Linked DNA regions of Homo sapiens: regions 1 and 3 are each linked to region 2. The links are contacts of gene promoters, found by promoter capture Hi-C in human tissues and cell types (Jung and others, 2019). All regions are on one chromosome and are shown on one strand. The core of a region is centred on a gene start or on the middle of the fragment in contact, and the rest is flanking DNA. Distances in the headings are between cores, read along the strand shown. Region 1 holds the start of ZNF665 (zinc finger protein 665). Region 2 holds the start of ZNF841 (zinc finger protein 841). Region 3 holds the start of ZNF813 (zinc finger protein 813).

What was found. Contacts are between HindIII fragments. The study calls those that stand out against the background at their distance.
Region 1: a contact is called between the fragment with the promoter of ZNF665 here and the fragment with the promoter of ZNF841 in region 2, in 1 of the 25 tissues and cell types used here (pancreas).
Region 3: a contact is called between the fragment with the promoter of ZNF813 here and the fragment with the promoter of ZNF841 in region 2, in 1 of the 25 tissues and cell types used here (small bowel).

What each region holds. Positions count from the first base shown.
Region 1 is chr19:53,191,926-53,194,625 of GRCh38, reverse strand. ZNF665 (zinc finger protein 665) reads left to right here and starts at 1,268. Exons shown (of 4, transcript NM_024733.5): 1 at 1,268-1,314. RefSeq lists an enhancer at 1,303-1,452. The HindIII fragment of the contact is 23,654 bases long and covers 1-2,700 here.
Region 2 is chr19:52,094,448-52,097,147 of GRCh38, reverse strand. It overlaps ZNF841 (zinc finger protein 841), which reads left to right and starts at 1,383. Exons shown (of 7, transcript NM_001136499.2): 1 at 1,383-1,573. The HindIII fragment of the contact is 12,551 bases long and covers 1-2,700 here.
Region 3 is chr19:53,466,357-53,469,056 of GRCh38, reverse strand. It overlaps ZNF813 (zinc finger protein 813), which reads right to left and starts at 1,324. Exons shown (of 4, transcript NM_001004301.4): 1 at 1,268-1,324. RefSeq lists enhancers at 1-542, 543-1,104, 1,041-1,280 and a silencer at 1,351-1,480. The HindIII fragment of the contact is 7,979 bases long and covers 1-2,700 here.

The sequences.
Region 1 (2,700 bases), core at 19-2,518, 1.1 Mb before region 2:
GTCAGTCATTGCTATTGCCATTATCATCACAGTTTTTACTTCTGGCCAGTGTTTCTGTAAAGCCACTGTGGACCTTGTCACCTCAGAAGACATCATTCGTGCTTTAGCTTATCTAGATACGGAGTATCACTTAGTGTGTTGAAAATAATATCTAACACTTCTATAGAGATCAGCTTGTGTTTGGGTTTTTATTTGTCTATTTATTGTATTGTCCACAAAACTGAAAACTCCACACAGATTTAGAGGCTATTATAACTACTTAGGGAAAAGTACAATAAAACAGAATTAGGGAGACATAACTTGCTCAAAAATGCCTTCACGCTGGGGCGGTGGCTCAGTGAGCCGAGATCATGCCATTGCATTCCAGCCTGGGCGACAAGAGCAAGACTCTTGTCTAAAAAAAAAAAAAAAAAAAAAAAAACAACAACAAACCTCACATATTCGTATTTAAGAATATAGGAAACACTGATTCAGTTTCTTCTACTGTTCTCTCACAACACAGAATGCTACAGTTAGCCCAGAGGTACTGGGTTTTCCCACACACACCAAGCAAGCAATCCTGCCACAGACACCAGGTGCGTGTTCTCTCATTCCGTTCCATTTTGCCGGGACATGGCATCAGATCCCACACGTTGAGGGCTCAGTCCCACAATAGTGCACACATTTCAATGCCAGTCTCAAGCAGAGGTTGTGACTTGTGCTTACAGATCAGATATAAATCCAGGAGTCCCTTGACCCCCTCCTCAGGTTCAACGAATTTGCTAGAGTGGCTCACAAAATACAGGGAAACACTTTACATAGATTTACGTATTATAAAGGATATTACAAAGTTGACAGAAGAACAGCCAGATGGAAGGGATCAGTGAGGTGAGGCATGGGAGAAGGGGCGTTGAGCCTTGGTGCCCTCCCTGGGTGCACCACGCTGCAGGAGCCTCCCAGTGTTCACCTATCCAGAAGCTCCGCTGAATCCTCTCCTTTTGGGTTGTTATGGCGCCTTCATTACATATGCATGATTGCTTATATTACTGGCCATTGGTTAAACTTTTAGATAGCCTAAGTTTTGTTTTTTTTTTTTTTTGGGAGAGACGAAGTCTCACTCTGTCACCCAGGCTGGAGTGCAATGGCGCGATATCGGCTCATTGCAACCTCCGCCTCCAGGGTTCAGGCCCCGCCCCGGCCCCGCCCACCCTATGCTCTCAGTCCCTCCCAACGCCTGGCCTTTCCCCACCGCAACCCGCCCCTTTGCCTACTGCGCGGGCAGTTTCTTGCAAACCCGGAAGCAGATCTCTTGGAGTGAAGGCTGTTAGTCGCCGCGTGAGTTTCCCTCTATCTAGATTAAACCTGCGTTTCGGAGTCCCCTGCTCCTCCGTACCCGATGTCCGGGGGTTCGTATAGCCCTTAAAGTCCCCGCACGGCTCCCTCCATTCCATGTAAATTCAGACTTTGCCGCGAGACTCTGGGGGTCGCATCGCTTTGGGTTAAAATCACACAGGCTGGTCCTGCCCGCGGTCTTTCGGCCTTCAGACCATGCAGACACCTCCTTTCCTGCGCCGTTTCCTGCTTAAAACCCTTTACTGACCTGCGCCCTGTGAAGTCCTCATCTGCGAAGTGGGTGCAGGATTTTACCGTCCCCTAACCTCGCCCTAGTCAGCTACTGGAGCGTTAGCGCCGCAGCCCCAGTCCCGGGGAGGCCGCGCCTCTGCCTGGTCCTGGGATCCTGCATACCCCACCCCTCTCCTAAGGCGCCGTCGCCCCCCACCTCCCTCCTCCTCGTGCCGGGCCCTGCTGCTCCCTAGGCCTCCCCTTCGCAGTCACCGTTTCCCCTGAGCCCGCGTTGGGGAGGTGCCCGGGCCTTGTCCTGTGATACCCGGTGTTCTTGCCTGCCCAGCTCCACCCGCTGGAAAATGTGCTCCTCCAGGATCCAGGTGTCTTACTCCAAACCCTCCCTGTGAATGTGTGGGCCAAGGGGATCAGGAGACAGAGAGGGGGGCTGAGAGAAAAGTAGAAAAACGGAGACAGAGGAAAGAATGAGGGAAACCAGTAAACATGGCAAAGTAGAGGATGGGTCAGGATTTACAAAGAGACAGTAAGGGTGAAAGAAGTCGCTGAGAAAGTAACAGGATGGAGAAACAACTGGAGAAATGTAGAGAAAAGCTCGCTGTCTAGAGAGATGAAGGACAGCAAGGTAGGGAGAGGGGCAGCTCCTCAGACGGAGAGTTAGGGAGAGGAGGGGGTATTTGGAGCCAGGATAGACAGAGCAGCGTGGTGCTGGGACAGCAAGAAGGGGCAGCTGGTGACAAGGAGAGCAGAGGGAGAACCACAGCAGGGGGAGACCTGGGATCTGGGGGTGCCAAAGAGTGGGGACAAGGAAGTGAAACAGGGAAGAGGGGATTTAACAGGGAGAGCAGAGATAAGGGAAGAAAGAGGCAGAAATAGATGGAGATTGGGGACAACCAAAAGACGGGTGAAAGAGGAATAAGAGGTGAAACAAGTTGCAAGAATGGAACAGAACAAGTGGAAGAGAAGGATAGAGGGAAGGAGAAACAGCAGGAGAAGAGAGGGGCTCAAAATGAGGAGCAGAGACCCAGGCTGAAACACAGAAAAGAAACAAGGAGAGAGAAGAAGAGAATGAGAGAGATGTACAGAATGAGGGAGGGAAACACACAGGAAGGAAGAAAGAGGGGGACTATGGCCCAGATG
Region 2 (2,700 bases), core at 134-2,633:
AGTACACATGAACAAAAGAGAAGGGTCATTTATAACCTGACGCATCTGGCCGGGCGCGGTGGCTCATGCCTGTAATCCCAGCACTTTGGGAGGCCGAGGTGGGCGGATCACGAGGTCAGGAGATCGAGACCATCCTGGCTAACGCAGTGAAACCCCGTCTCTACTAAAAATACAAAAAATTAGCTGGGCGCAGTGGCAGGTGCCTCTAGTCCCAGCTACTCGGGAGGCTGAGGCAGGAGAATGGCGTGAACCCAGGAGGCAGAGCTTGCAGTGAGCCGAGATAGCGCCACTGCACTCCGGCCTGGGCGAAAGAACGAGACTCCGTCTCAAAAAAAATAATAATAATAATAACCTGACGCGTCCACCCTACTGCTGTGTCTGGTTTCCATTGGCTGGAATCGGACCCAATTCTGTGCTTGACCTGATTGGCTAGCACCTTAGAACTTCCCAAAAGAGGCAAAGGCAGAGGAGAACAAAGGAAGAGAGGAAGTAACTTGTGGAAGGCTGAGAGAGGCAAAAACACTTCCAAATAAGGAAGAGGAATAGGCTGTGACCTAATGCTTGCTTGGAACAATTCAGGCATGCCAGGGCAAATATCTAGGCTAAAATGTGGGAGCTAAGAACACAGAGTATATTGATTTATCTATTATGGCTAGCAGATATTTAAGAATATTAGCACAGGTCTTTGAGTAAATTTTGCTTCTAAGAGAGGTTACTATCTATTCTCAATTAGACTGGGAGGAAAGTCCCTTTGAAGAGGAACCTCTACTTATTTCATTTTCTACACTGTGTCTAGCACATTTCGCTTGGCATAATGTCTTCTGGGTTCCTGGATCCAGTCACTGCTCCACATCCAATCCCCACCGAGATCCCAGTTCCCTGACTACTGAGTAGCTTCAGCTTTTCTGGTAAGACTGGATGGAGTCCACCAGGCTCGGAAAAATCGGTTTTGACTTAAATCAGTTCAACTTGTTAAGAATAAATCATCTTAGTTTCCAGTATAAGTGGACCACAACTTTAAGATTCAACCTTAAATTCTGAAACATTAATTTAAAATGGGCAAGGAGCAACGCTGCTTCACAGGACAAGAAATAGTCACAAATACTCCCAAACCTGGAAAACAAAATCCTGCTGGGTGAGAGGCGGAGTGGAGAACAGGCCCCGCCTCGGCCCCGCCCACCCCTGGAGGCCCCGCTTCATCCCAGTTTTCGGTCCAGCCAAGCCCCACCTAGTCACGCCCCCTACCGCCCTGGGCCTCCCACCACCCTTTCGGGCCACTCCCAAGTCAGGCCAGTCTTTCCGCCCAGCCCTTTCCTAGTCGCGCCCCGCCTAGGCCCCGCCCCCAGGCCGCCCAGTTTTTCTTTCCGCGCCCAGTTTCCTGCACACCCGGAAGCAGATCGCGCTGGGGAAAGGCCACGTCGCTATGAGTGTGTTTCAGTCTACCTGGATTAAACGTTTGCTTCTCTTCGTCTACCTTGATTAAACGTGCACTTCGCAGTCCTCGGTTCTCCATACCCGTGACCTGGGGATCGCTACGGACCTTAAAATACCCGCAACAGCCCCTTCGTCCCAAGTAAGTAGGAGAATTGCTTCCCTTTCGGTTTAAAATCTCTCTGAGGCCGTTCCTTGCTCTCTGCCTTTCTTCCTTAGGACCATGTAGACAACCCCATTCAGGTAGTGTTCCCGCTTAAAACCCTCTGCTTGGGCCCCGCGCCAAGTCGAGTCCTCATTCGGGATGTGGACTAGCGCCCTTCGCGATCCCCGAGCTCCTCCGTCGTCTGCCCCTGGAGGGGAGCGCCCACTGTCCGGCTCCTGAAGGAGCCGCTTCTCCTCCCACGTCCTGGGATTCTGCAGACCCTCCCTGTCGTGAGACATCGTTCTCCGCGCCACCTCGTGTCGTCCTCACGCCGGGTCCTTCCGCTCCCCAGGCTTCCCCTTCACAGCCACTGCTTTTCTTGACTCCCCGTTGGGACAGGTTACCTGAGTCTGTCTTGTGACACCCAGTGTTCTTCCTTCCCAAATTTTACTCCACTGGAAAATGTGCTCTTCCGGGAGGTGGGCATCCTATTCCTCCCCTTTCCTCCCGAATGTGTGGGTGAGAGGGATCAGGAGAGGAAAAGACGGGGAACGACGGAGCAAAAGGAAAAACTGAGGAGAAAAGAATGAGGGAGACCCATAAATACACGGCAAAATGGATGATACTTTAGGGACTTGCAAAGAGAGCAAGAGTGAAAGAGAACGGATGGAAAAAGTAGCAGGGGGAGAAAAGCACACAGAGAAATTTAGAAAAAAAGGGGACCTTCAGAGAGATGAAGGGCAGCAAAATAGAGTGGGGCGGCAAAGGAGGAGGCACTGCAGACAGACAGACAGTGGGGAGAAGGTGAAAGAGTTGGAGCCGCGGCTGACAGAGCTACGTGGTGCTGGGACTGAAAGAGAGGGAGAGAGGGCAGTGGGTGACAAGCAGAGTAGAGGGAGAACCACAGCAGGGAGTAAGCCTAGGAAATTGGGGGTGCTAGAGAGTGGGAACAAAGGAGATGTAACAGGGAAGAGGGAATTTAACAAGGAGAGCAGAGAGGGAGCTTAGATGGGGGAAAAGAGGCAGAAATACGTGGAGATTGGGGACAATCGGAAAGATTGGGGAGAAAGAGCTACGAGAGGTGAAGTAAGTTGCAGAGCATTGGGCAGAACAGACATAAAAGA
Region 3 (2,700 bases), core at 75-2,574, 1.4 Mb before region 2:
GTTAACCAGGGACACAATGCACTGCGGAAAGCCGCAGGGACCTCTGCCCTAGAAAGCCTGGGTATTGTCCAAGTTTCCCCCCACTGAGACAGCCTGAGATATGGCCTCGTGGGAAAGGAAAGACCTTACATCCCCCAGCCGGACACCCGTAAAGAGTCTGTGCTGAGGAGGAGTAGTGAAAGAGGAAGGCCTCTTTGCAGTTGAGATAAGAGGAAGACTTCTGTCTCCTGCTGGTCCCTGGGAATGGAATGTCTAGGTGTAAAGCTGACCATTTCCATTCGTTCTATTCTGAGATAGGAGAAAACCGCCCTGTGGCTGGAGGCGAGATATGCTGGCAGCAATACTGCTCTGTGACTCTTTGCTACACTGAGATGTTTGGGTGAAGAGAAACATAAATCTAGCCTACGTGCACATCTGGGCACAGTACCTTTCCTTGAACTTATTCATGATATAGATTCCTTTGCTCACATGTTTTCTTGCTGACCTCTCCCCACCTGTTGCCCTGCTACACTCCCCTCACTAGGACAGTAAAAATAATGATCAATAAATACTGAGGGAACTCAGAGGCTGGCACTGGTGCCGGTCCTCCGTATGCTGAGCGCCGGTCCCCTGGGCCCACTGTCCTTTCTCTATACTTTGTCTTTGTGTCTTATTTCTTTTCTCAGTCTCTCTTCCCACCTGACGAGAAATACCCACAGGTGTGGAAGGGCTGGCCTCCTTCAACAGGACAAGCCCCGGGCACCTCCCCAACGTGGGCTCAGGGGAAGCCGTGACTGCGGAGGGGAGACCTAGGAAGCAGCAGGGCCCGGCAGGAGGAGGGAGGTGGGGGGGGGGGGGCGCGAGGGCGCCTTAAGACAAGGGTGGGGTCTGCAGGATCCCGGGACCAGACAGAGGACGCGGCCTTCCCGGGACTGGGGCCGCGGTTCTGCGCTCCACCGGCCGAAGTGGGCGAGAATCCACCCCTTGGGTGAGGACTTCAAAAAGCGCGGGGTGGGAGGAGTCAGAGAAAGGTTTAGAGCAGGAAAAATGCGCGATAGAAAGTGTATACATTGCCCTATAGCAGAAAGACCCGGGACGGGACCAGCCTCAGGGCGACCTTAAACACAAAAGGAAGCGACCCCCGGACTCTCACGGGGTCGTCTCAATTTGCTCTGGGTGAAGGAAGACGGCTGAGAATTTCCAGGTTTGTGGGGACCCCACGCCCCAGGTACAGAAGCGCCAGGGACCTGGGAAGTGCAGACCTAATACAACACAGAGCCAAACTCACGCGCTGCCGTGGGACCGTCACTCCACGCGATCCGCTTCCGGGTTTTCGCGAATCTGCGCGCAGGACAGAAGCCAGGCCTGGGCGGGACCTGGGAGGTGGGCGGGGCCTGACGAAGCAGGGGCGGGGCGAGAGGCGGAGAGACTTTGCCCTTTGGAAGGCGCAGAGGGCGGGGCCGGGGTGGGACCTGTGAGTCCGTCACCCTCGCTCCAGCGCCTGTTTTAGGGTTTTGGAGTCGAGACCGGCCAGTAAGGTTGAGGCACTATTCAAAAGCCCTGGAATTGTCTGGAACGGGGATGCAAACTAGAATGTGAAATGCAAAGCCCTGCCTGGGCGGAAGGTACGATTTCATGCTGACGGCCCACAAAACAAAATAGAAATCCTCCCCCTTTCTATTCTCCATTCACTCAGGAGGGCAAGTCCACCCCGTGCTCAACTTCAGAGATTTCCCTAAAGCCACCGCCATGGATGCGGGACGGAGTGCTCAGGCCAGGGAGGAGTGAGGTGACCACCTGCTGGATGGGGCGCCGGGGTGGGAGGGATGCGCGCGCGGGGGCAGGAGCCTGAGGTCCCAGCTACTCAGGAAGCAGCGGCGGGAGGATCGCTGAGCCTGGGGGTCCAGGCCAGCCTGAGCGACAAAGTAACACCCCCTCCCGCAGCGCTTCCTTCCTCGTCTCTTTTTTTCCTTTTTTTTTTTTAATGTTTTAAAATACAATTTTGATTGTGTGAGATAGGGATCCAACAGTATTCTTTTCCATCTGGATATTCAGTTAGTTGTCTCAGCACGTTTGTGGAAGAGATTTATTACTTTATTTATTTACTTATTTCTTTTGAGACAGAGTATTTCTCTGTCGCCCAGGCTAGAGGGCAGTAACGGGATCTCGGTTCACTGCAGCCTCTTCCCTCTTGGGTTCAAGCGATTCCCCTGCCTCAGCCTCCGGAGTACCTGCCATTACATTCGCGTGCCACCATGCCTGGCTAATTTTTGTATTTTTGTAGACGGGTTTCACCATGTTGGCCAGGCTGGTCTCAAACTCTTGACTTCAAGTGATCCGCCTGCCTCGGCCTCCCAAAGTGCTGGCATTACAGGCGTGAGCCACTGCACCTGGCCCAACAAATACTTTTTACTTCACTTTCCAATTGTTGAGAAAACATAATTGAAAACAAACAAAAAGTCTTCCCCCCAATGAGAAATCATCTCCACGACGACAATAGAGAAAGAAATTAAAACCATTTCATTAATAAATAAGCCTTAGGCCAGATTATGATGCGAAATAGACAAACAGCTAAGAGGTTGAAAAGAGAGAAAGAAACTTCACTGTTCTATACAACCCATTAAGTACATGTTTTCAAGATAAACACTAATCAGTCCTCAGGGAAGAGGACTTGACAACACCCTTGGTCACACATAGTTCATCCTGGCTCTACTTGGTAAT